2 separate regions of the Homo sapiens genome follow, and region 1 is linked to region 2. Evidence: promoter capture Hi-C in 16 types of primary human blood cells and fetal thymus (Javierre and others, 2016). All regions are on one chromosome and are shown on one strand. Each heading gives the region's core, a stretch centred on a gene start or on the middle of the fragment in contact. The rest is flanking DNA. Distances are from core to core; before and after follow the strand shown.

What was found. The method cuts DNA at HindIII sites, captures the fragments that hold promoters and counts their contacts. A CHiCAGO score of 5 or more calls a contact.
Region 1: a contact is called between a fragment that was not itself captured here and the fragment with the promoter of KAT2B in region 2, in 1 of 17 cell types (total CD4 T cells). The highest score is 5.2, in total CD4 T cells.

Annotation. Positions count from the first base shown.
Region 1 is chr3:4,493,102-4,497,915 of GRCh38, forward strand. It overlaps ITPR1 (inositol 1,4,5-trisphosphate receptor type 1), which reads left to right and starts at 247. Exons shown (of 62, transcript NM_001378452.1): 1 at 247-504; 2 at 1,330-1,405. It overlaps ITPR1-DT (ITPR1 divergent transcript), which reads right to left and starts at 62. Exons shown (of 2, transcript NR_108075.1): 1 at 1-62. RefSeq lists silencers at 316-585, 1,884-2,178. The HindIII fragment of the contact is 1,240 bases long and covers 670-1,909 here.
Region 2 is chr3:20,038,879-20,043,643 of GRCh38, forward strand. It overlaps KAT2B (lysine acetyltransferase 2B), which reads left to right and starts at 1,568. Exons shown (of 18, transcript NM_003884.5): 1 at 1,568-1,902. The coding sequence starts at 1,600. RefSeq lists silencers at 830-1,469, 1,640-1,769, 1,970-2,029 and enhancers at 1,193-2,163, 2,880-3,069, 4,431-4,600, 4,681-4,765. The HindIII fragment of the contact is 5,734 bases long and covers 1-4,680 here.

The DNA of each region.
Region 1 (4,814 bases), core at 40-2,539, about 16 Mb before region 2:
TTGAACGGCTGGCTCCAAGCCCTACCGACCCCAGCCAAGGAACAGGCTCAGCAGCCTGAAAGCCTCGCAGGACGCCCCTCCCCTGTCCCCGCACGCGTCTATTTAGGGCCCAGCCCGGGCGCCCAGGGGATTCTGGGACTTGTAGTCCCTCCCCGCAGCCTCAGGCGCCGCCACGACCCGCTACTTGGACTACATTGCCCAGGGAGCTTCCCGGCCTATATAAGCCACCCGGAGCCGCTTTAAAGTGCAGTAACCATGTGGATGTGCTGCTGAAGCGTTTCCTCAAGCTCGCTGGGGTGGGAGGAGAGGAGGAGGAGGAGGTGGTGGTGGAGGAGGAGGCAGGGGGTGGAGAGAGAGAAAGCGCACGCCGAGAGGAGGTGTGGGTGTTCCGCTTCCATCCTAACGGAACGAGCTCCCTCTTCGCGGACATGGGATTACCCAGCGGCTGCTAACCCCTCTCCTCGCCCTGCTCCCCCAAACCGGCGTGGCTCCCCGGGCACCAAGGTAGCGGCTGGGGCCGGGCAGAGGGCGCGGGGAGTTGGCACTGGCTCCCCGGGCGCAGAAGTTTTTGCCCCGCTCTCGGGGAGATCTTGATGGATGTGCATGCACTTGGCATGCATTTGGGGGTTCCTTTACTGCGGGCAGTTGTTTTGGGGGGAGCTCATTTGAAGCTTAAAAAACAAATATCCTCTACTCTAGTGCGTGGCTTTGGGGGCTCCCCATTCTGGTCTGATGTGGCATTCCCCCAAGTTGGAAACTGTTGCTGCAGCTGCAGGAAATAGTTCTTTTTTTTTTTTTTTTTTTGAAGAGAGGTTGTGGGGGTGTCATATGTGAGTCTGCTCAAGGAAATAATCTTTCTAAAAATGTATCCCTCTCTTGCGCTCCGTGGTTGGGAGAATAATGCATGTGTAGGGGCCCCCCGTGGGGAGGGTTTTTAAAAACGGAAGAAAACCGGAGAAGCGGTGAGGGATGAAGTGTGGACGAAGCTCATGTCCAATGAGGATGCGGGCTTCGGATACTTGGCCTTCTCGCCGGGAAACAAGTGCTTTGGGATCTGCCAAACACTTCCCTTAGTTCCAGCCTCCCGCACGTTCGAAGTTTGTGCGTGCCTAGTCTCAATTGTCAGTTACATCCTGGAAATAAGTAAGCGTAGTTACCTGGAATCTTCGCCCAAGCGATCCCACCAACCTGCCTACCAAGTTTGGGGGCGGGGGGGCTGTCCCCAGTGAAGGAGGCTAAAGAAGGTGGAAACTTGTAATTTGGAGCATTTCTGTTAGAGCTCATCTTCCGCGGTCTGGTACTCAGTCTTCTTTCTTTCTAAATATTTAGGAGCTGACTACAGAGGAGCAGGATTTGCACCCCTCGCTGGGCTTGCTTTGGCAACAGAGTGCCTGACCCAGGTCAGGTGAGTGTGGAAGCCTGAGTGCTGTAGTCAATAATGAGTTTTTGTCCTAAGCCTATTTTAAGTTCTATCTAAACCGCCAAGGAGGTGGGGAGTAAGAAAGAAAAAGAAACTCCGTGGCTCAGTCTTCAAAATTTGCCTCTGCCTTTGGTGAGGGCTTTTGGGAGCAGAGGTCCAGTGGACAGTCCGTTTCTTGGAAGTAGCTGAGAATTGAAGGAGCCTGAAAGTTTATGAGAGAGGAGGGGAAAAGGCCATTAAATGGAGCAATAAAACGGCGGCCCATTGCCGGTCTGAAAAGCATGCTGATGATTTAAATTCTGAAGGATACAGTGCATTTCATATGCCAAAATGTGTAAGCAGTATTAACTGCCTCTCTCCTTCAAGAAATAGTCACTCTTTTCTAATTTTGAACGTGTGCTTAATCAGAGTAGGTTGGATTGCAAGAAATGAAAGTGGTTGCTGCAAGTTGAAAGAATTAGAACTTTAAAAAGGGAAGTGAGTTATTGAAGCTTAAGGTGGTAGCATCCAGCCCTTGACTCAAGCCACCTGAGTGTCAAGGAATCTGGCAGGTCCCTGTTGTTTTGGGGCCCGTGGTGGAATATGAGCTGAGAGCAGCATTTATCTGTAAACACAACAGTTCCTATTTTTTCCCCAAAATGGTCAGACTGCATTTGAAGAGTGGGAGGTTTCAACGGGTGCACGTACATCACTATTGCTGCAGATTTGGCTATCAGGAGTTTTTTCTCCTGAAATGTTCAGGAACATGGTAAATAACAGGGTAACAGAGGTAGGTGGGGGTGGGTGGCTGGGTCTTAATAACTTTTTTAACATTCTAAATATTTAGCTGTTCCCTGGGCTACAATCTTTGGGCTTTTCTAATGAGAAAATAAAAGTCAGACACTTCATTATAGTGGTATAGTGCTTTTGTTTCCTGTTGATAAGATCCTCAGGAGTACTGGCGGAGTGAGAAGCATTTGGATGTGAGAACTCTAGTTTCTTCTTGGAGTTCTGTTGACTCACATGGCTGTGTGGGTGCTCATAGAGCCAAGGATTAGGCCCAGTTCCCCTTTTCAGAATTAGCTGTACAGCAAGGAAAAACTGGTCCACAGACTCTTTTCTAACTGGTTGCTAAAAATAATAAGATGGACACATTAAGTACTTGTAAGCCAGGTCCAGAGCCATGTATCTCAGAAACCCTGTGCGTCAGATGCAGGTGAAGAAACTGAGGTGCAGAGAGTGAAATCACTTGCCCAGTAGCTAGTACAAAGTAGGAGCAGGGTGTAACCTCAGGCGGTGAGGCTGTACTGCATCCCACAAATGGACCTCAGTTGATTTGGGGATGCTGGTGGTGAGAGGGAAGCTAGGAAAAATGGTAAACTTACTGCTACTGATGAAATAACTTGCATACCTCCCACCAATGATGAAATAATACATAACATTGATGTAAGAAGGAAAGGATGTAGCCACAAACATAGGGATAAAAGAGTGCAGATATTTGAGGAGGTATTAGATACTGTAATGAGTTCATTTTGGAAAGCCTGAATGGGGAGAGTAAAAAGAAACAAAACCACAAGGAACATTATGTAAGTTAAGCATTAGGCTCACCTCCTAGCTGAAATACATCTTGATTGTTTACATCAAAGAATCTGAGTAGGTTAAAAGGATCAGGCGTTTCCCCATCTGAATAATTCGAAAGTTTAAACTGCAGTTAGACTGCAATGTGAAATGTTGATACCTTTTCATATACCTTCCAGTTTGCTTTGCAGCCAGTTGTGCAGACGTTTTTGTTCTCCATTTTTTCTTTCAAGTTCATGTGTGTGTGTGTGTGTGTGTATGCATATGTACACTGAAAGTACAATCTGCTCTTTGAATAATTCAAATCAGAACAGAAAATCCTTTCAAGATATCATTCTTATCAGGCAGGGAAAGTTCTTCATGTTCTAAGTGAATTACTCTGGCTCTTGCCTTGAGACCCATGAAAGTCATTTGGGGTTGACAATGGTATCTATTTAAACCAAGTGATTGTCTTTTGGAGGGAATTGGCATCTTTTCTTTAGGAATGAGAAGTGGAATGGTTGCTTAGAAAAAAAGAGATAGATGAACTCCACAGAAAGATCAAGAGTCTTTTCTTCAAAATATTTTTAAGTGAGGAAGATCAGGGTGTTGGTATTGCGGGGAGGGAGGAGAGTGGGCAGAGAGAAAGATAAAAAAGAAACCTTTAATCCAATGGTGTGCAACCAACTGACTTCCAGAGGGGGGAATATCACATGGCTTTTCAACTCATTTATAAAGATATCATGGAAACTGTCTGATTTCTTCATGAGCAGCTCTTAGAAAACAAACAAAAATAAAACAAACACCAAATATGAACAACAGAAAAAAACAGCCAAAATAAAAGTAGGCCTGGAGTTAGGTTTCTAGGTCAAGCTGTCTTTGGCTACATCTAATTAAGGAGTCTCCACAGGGCCAGTGTCTATCTTGTTTACTATTGGTTTGATTTTTAAAAATAAAACACATTGCATTTGCAGGCTGTCTGTTAACCAGAAGTCCATGCAGTTTTTTTTTTTTCCATTTTTGCTGTTTTAAGTTTGTGCATAGCTCAATTGATGAATGCAATTAAGGCTTGAAGTCGGTGATGTGAATGACATAACTTCTATGATTCCTTACAATTCTCTTGGTTTCTGTGGTTCTGAGATGATTGCTAATGAGAATAAGCCAGATACACCACTGAAACCGTCACCCATTCAACTTTGAGATTTCTAAATTGGATGTAGTTTAAGGCACATGGTGTGGTAAATCTATTTAACAGACTCTAAGACCTGTTCAAGTTGTGTGCGATTCAAATGTTTTATTCTTTATTCAACAAATTTCTTGAGCACCTGCTATGTACTAAGATGTATTCCAGGTGCTCAGGATATAGCAATGAACAAACCATCCCGTTCCCAAGAGGCTTACATCTCAGTTGGTGGGAGGCAGCCAATATAAATAAACAAGTAAGTATTATAGTATTAGAGGTAGTAAAAGCTATGGAGAAAAAGAAAACTGGTTAAAGGGGGAACAGAAAATAACAAGTGGAGAAATTAGATCCCTTGTGCATTGCCGGTGGGAATGTAAAATGGTGAAGCTGCTGTGGAAAACAGCATGGCAGTTACTAAAAAAAATTAAACATAAAATTACTATATGTCCCAGCAATTCCACTTCAAGGTATATACTTTAAAAAATTGAAAGTAGGGACGTGAGCAGATATTTGTACACCTGTGTCAGTAGAAGCATTATCACAGTAGCCAAAAGGTAGAAACAACACAAGTCTACTGATGAATGAACAGATAAAATGTGAAATATACATACAATGGAATATTATTCAGCCTTAAAAAGGGAATTCTGACACATGCTACAATGTGGATGAACCTTG
Region 2 (4,765 bases), core at 318-2,817:
TATTGCCTTTTGCCCTGTCTAAGCTAATATCACTGTTTAGATCTACAAACTCCCCCACCTCCCAATGTTTATATATTAACCTGCATTACAAGTCAAAATAACACAGAGAATCTGGAAAAAGAAGAAGGGGAATGTTTCCCACGAAAAGCACACCCCTTAAAGCGTCTGGCCTGAGAGCTATACAGCATGCATAAAATCTGATAATAAGCACATTATGACCCACATTGCATATAACAAAAAGTAGGGCACTTCTGAAGGGTCCTGAGAAAAAGCCCTGGGCTTTTAAAACCTGCTTAAGAAGGCGATCAACGGTACACCACTTTCAAACGCAGCACTGACTTGTATGCTCCACAGTCATCAACAGTGAAAACAACAGTTTTCAACAAGAGTTGGAAACACTGAGTTGAGGGTTTTTTTTTTCTTTTTAAAGTTTGAGGCCAAAATCGATATTTATTCTTTTGAATTATGCTTATATCTTTTTCCTGGTTAATACGCACGCGGTGGCACAATTTTGAAAACTACGTAACGTTATAGAACCACCACCCAGAAACGAATCCTGTTAACAAACTTTTTGTATTCAAACTTTTTCCACTGCATAGTTTTTGACAATGCTTTTTAGACAATCTTTCTTTTAGCAACCAGCACTTTCAAACAAAAATTACAGAGAATAGTAAGTTTTTTTCCCCTCCTCCGGCAGATTTGACCCAGAAATTGCTATGGGAAGAAAGTGTTAATTATATTAAAAAATAGTTTGACAGAAAGTATTTAAAAAGAGAAAGGGAGAACATCACGTCTTTATTTTGGTGAATTAGCAACAAAGAAAAAGATTAGCATGGACGGGTACTTTTCAAAAATATATTTTTTTTCCTCTGGCTCCCGCTAGGGTGGAGGAAGTTGTCTCTCTGTCAGAGACAGGGTGGAAGAGAGTGAAAGGACAAATGATTGAGAGGCTGCCCCCTCCCACTGGTGCAGGCGTGCGGGGGTCGGATGGGGGGCCGCGGAGGGGGGAGGTGGCCAGCAGGTGCCTGGGCTCCAGGCCCCTACCCCCACCCTCGTCCCCACCCTCACCCACACCCAGGGATTGGCCTCGCCCCCTGGCGGGCGAGCGGTAGGTGTCGAAGCACTGGGGTGGGGGGTGCAAACCCCGCGGGCAGCGGAAAAGAGGCCGTGGGGGGCCTCCCAGCGCTGGCAGACACCGTGAGGCTGGCAGCCGCCGGCACGCACACCTAGTCCGCAGTCCCGAGGAACATGTCCGCAGCCAGGGCGCGGAGCAGAGTCCCGGGCAGGAGAACCAAGGGAGGGCGTGTGCTGTGGCGGCGGCGGCAGCGGCAGCGGAGCCGCTAGTCCCCTCCCTCCTGGGGGAGCAGCTGCCGCCGCTGCCGCCGCCGCCACCACCATCAGCGCGCGGGGCCCGGCCAGAGCGAGCCGGGCGAGCGGCGCGCTAGGGGGAGGGCGGGGGCGGGGAGGGGGGTGGGCGAAGGGGGCGGGAGGGCGTGGGGGGAGGGTCTCGCTCTCCCGACTACCAGAGCCCGAGAGGGAGACCCTGGCGGCGGCGGCGGCGCCTGACACTCGGCGCCTCCTGCCGTGCTCCGGGGCGGCATGTCCGAGGCTGGCGGGGCCGGGCCGGGCGGCTGCGGGGCAGGAGCCGGGGCAGGGGCCGGGCCCGGGGCGCTGCCCCCGCAGCCTGCGGCGCTTCCGCCCGCGCCCCCGCAGGGCTCCCCCTGCGCCGCTGCCGCCGGGGGCTCGGGCGCCTGCGGTCCGGCGACGGCAGTGGCTGCAGCGGGCACGGCCGAAGGACCGGGAGGCGGTGGCTCGGCCCGAATCGCCGTGAAGAAAGCGCAACTACGCTCCGCTCCGCGGGCCAAGAAACTGGAGAAACTCGGAGTGTACTCCGCCTGCAAGGTACGCGCTCGCCGCTCTCGGACCGCGGATGGGTGCTAGGGGCCCAGCCCGCGGGACCCCCCTCCCCCTCCCGCTTCCACCTCCGCCTCCCGCCTCCTGCCTCTCGCCTCCCGCCTGGGGCCGCTGCACCGCGGAAGTGCTCTTGTCGCCCGCGCCCAATTAGCTTCTTCTTGGATAAGAGTCCTGCTGGGTTTGAAGAAGGGGGATCACTAAGACGGAGAGCCCTTCATTCCTTCCGCTTGAAAGGAGTAGCTTCGGCATCCGAGCTCCCGGGCTACCTTGGGGTTTTGTTGCTCTGTAGGAGCTCGCTGGAGTCACTTTCCCGGGAGTGGAGCGGTGCTCTCCATGTGGCGGGTGACCCAGGGGCAAGGAAAAATCTTTTGGGGGACTGAGTGGTCCCTTCTGCAATCGATCCCTTCCTGTGTCCCACTGGGAGGAACTGGGTGCAAGGAGTGGGGGTGGAGAAGACTCCCGGACTCCTGGCGCTTTGGGAAAGCGAAGGGGAGGAAAGCGCGGGGTGGGAAGGTGGGCAGAGTCCGAGGCGAGGGTCTTGTGGTGCCTGGCGCCCTCGGCTGGGGGCGGAGGCACTGCCGCGCGCGGTGACAGCCCTGTCATTATTGTATTATTACTTGTTTAGTTAAAACGCTGTCCCAGCTGCTCGAGGTGTAAACAGGATTTGGCAAAGTGACAGCCCAGCGCGGCGGGCGCTACTGCTCAGTTTGAGGACACCCATTTCTTGCTACCCACTCTCCATGCCAGTTTAGGCACCCTGTCACCTCCAGCTGCAGATCCAGATGTGGAGGCTGTGTTCCCGAGGTGGGAGGATTGCCCGAGGCCGCGGGGCAGGCTGGCCCTGCGCTGTCAGCAGCGGCTTTGTTTTGACAGGGTGACAGCTGAGGGGGGCGGGGACTTGGCCTTGTCAGCTCCTGCGGCCTGTGGCTGAGGCAGGGAAGAGACACACTCACACACACTCACACCTCCCTGTATTCTTCCTGCCTGCTGTAAAGAGGGTCAAGTTCCCAGATTCCAGATTCCCGATTGTCACAACCAAGCTGCAGTGACCACTTCTGAATTTTGACATAACTATAATTTATTCTACTAGAACATCTAGGTTATACTCTTCTTGGTACTTGCAGGAGCTTCTCAGTCACAATGGAATGTCTATGCTTGCTCTTTTTCCACACCATATGCTCAGGTTTATGTTAAGCACCTCTGTATCCTACACTGGTTCAATAAATATTTGTTGAGTGAATGTAGGATCTAGCCCAGTGCTCCTCAAACTTTAATGTGCATGGGAATCTCCTGGGGAAGCTGGTTAAAATGCTGATTATGAATCAGGTGGTCTGAGGTGGAAGCTGAGAGTTTGCATTTCTGACAAACTCCCAAGTGATGCTATGCTAGTCCACAGACCACATTCCAATTCAGACCTGGACAATATATTATTTGTCCCCTTTGATTTTAGCAGAAAAGACAGAAACAAATAATAATGCTATGTGGTTATTTCTGAAGAAGGAATGCAAAAAAGATGAAGTGGGGAGTGTGCTTCTAAGAAAGGTGCAAGCCCAGGAGTTGATCATGAAGGGCATTAGACGAATGAGAACAGGACACCGACTGTAGTAGGCAGAAGGGCGAGCTATGTACAGAATTAAGAACAAGGTCATGGGTACAGGGCATACTGCTTGGGTGATGACTACACCAAAATCTCACAAATCACCATTAAAGAACTTATGTAATCAAACACCACCTGTTCCACAAAAACCTATGAAAAAAAAGAGCAAGGTCAATTACTTGGTGGCCTTGGCGTTTCGCAGCCAAAGTGGGCTCATGCAGGAACTGTCTCAACTCAGTGTTTCTGTTCTGGCTTTATTTTAAAATTTATTTATTGGGTTCTCATCACCAGCACCTCTTAAAGACTTCCTGCTGCCTGCTGTAGCTTTAATATCTGAAAACTTTCCTGAAGTTTTGGTTTTGTCTAAAACCATGAGCATATGTGGCCTGCATTGATATTTTTGATCTTTTCAAATTTCCATGGGTGAGATGTAGCACCACTTCCAAGTGGGATTTGAGTGTTTCCTGGTCACTTTCATGACCCAACAAGAGAAAGAGAAAATTTATTTTAACGTCTTTTTTTTTTTTTGAGACAGGGTCTCACTCTGCCACGTAGGCTGGAGTGCAGTGGCATGATCGTAGCTCACTGCAGACTCAACCTCCCTGGGCTCAGGTGATCCTCCTACATCAGCCTCTTGAGTAGCTGGGACTACAGGCATGCGCCAGTACACTATTATTATTATTATTTGTATTCTTTGTAGAGATAGGGTTTCACCTTGTTGCCCAGGCTGTTCTCAAACTCCTGAGCCCAAGCAATTTGCCCGCCTTGCTTCCCAAAGTGCTGAGATTATAGGCATGGGCCACCATGCCTGGCTGAAAGTGTTCATTTTTATGTATCCATTCATTCAGTAAATATTTAGAGGGTTACCAACTGGGTGTCAGGCATTGGGCTAGGTGCTGGGCCTATGACACACAGAATTTGTCCTTCAGGAGTTACTTATTGTGTGTGTGCACAAGTGCATGTGTGTGTATGCATGTGTTGGGGGCCTAGGGATGAGGGCAGTGAACCAAAATTACAGAGAAGTTCAGAAAAACTACTTTCTTGGAGTAGTTGCGGACCCAGAGCAGGACAGTTCATAGACTGGGGCACTGGTAGGGTGGGATTGGCTTCCTGGAGGAAGTGTCAGTGGCTGCTAAGAACTCTTGGCAGGGCAGAGTGGGGTGGGGTGAAGCTTCTTGTAGTGGAGAAACTGAAAGCAGTTGTGGAAGCTTGGAGGTGGGCCAACTGAGCCAGACCTTTGTTGCCTAGGGCCAC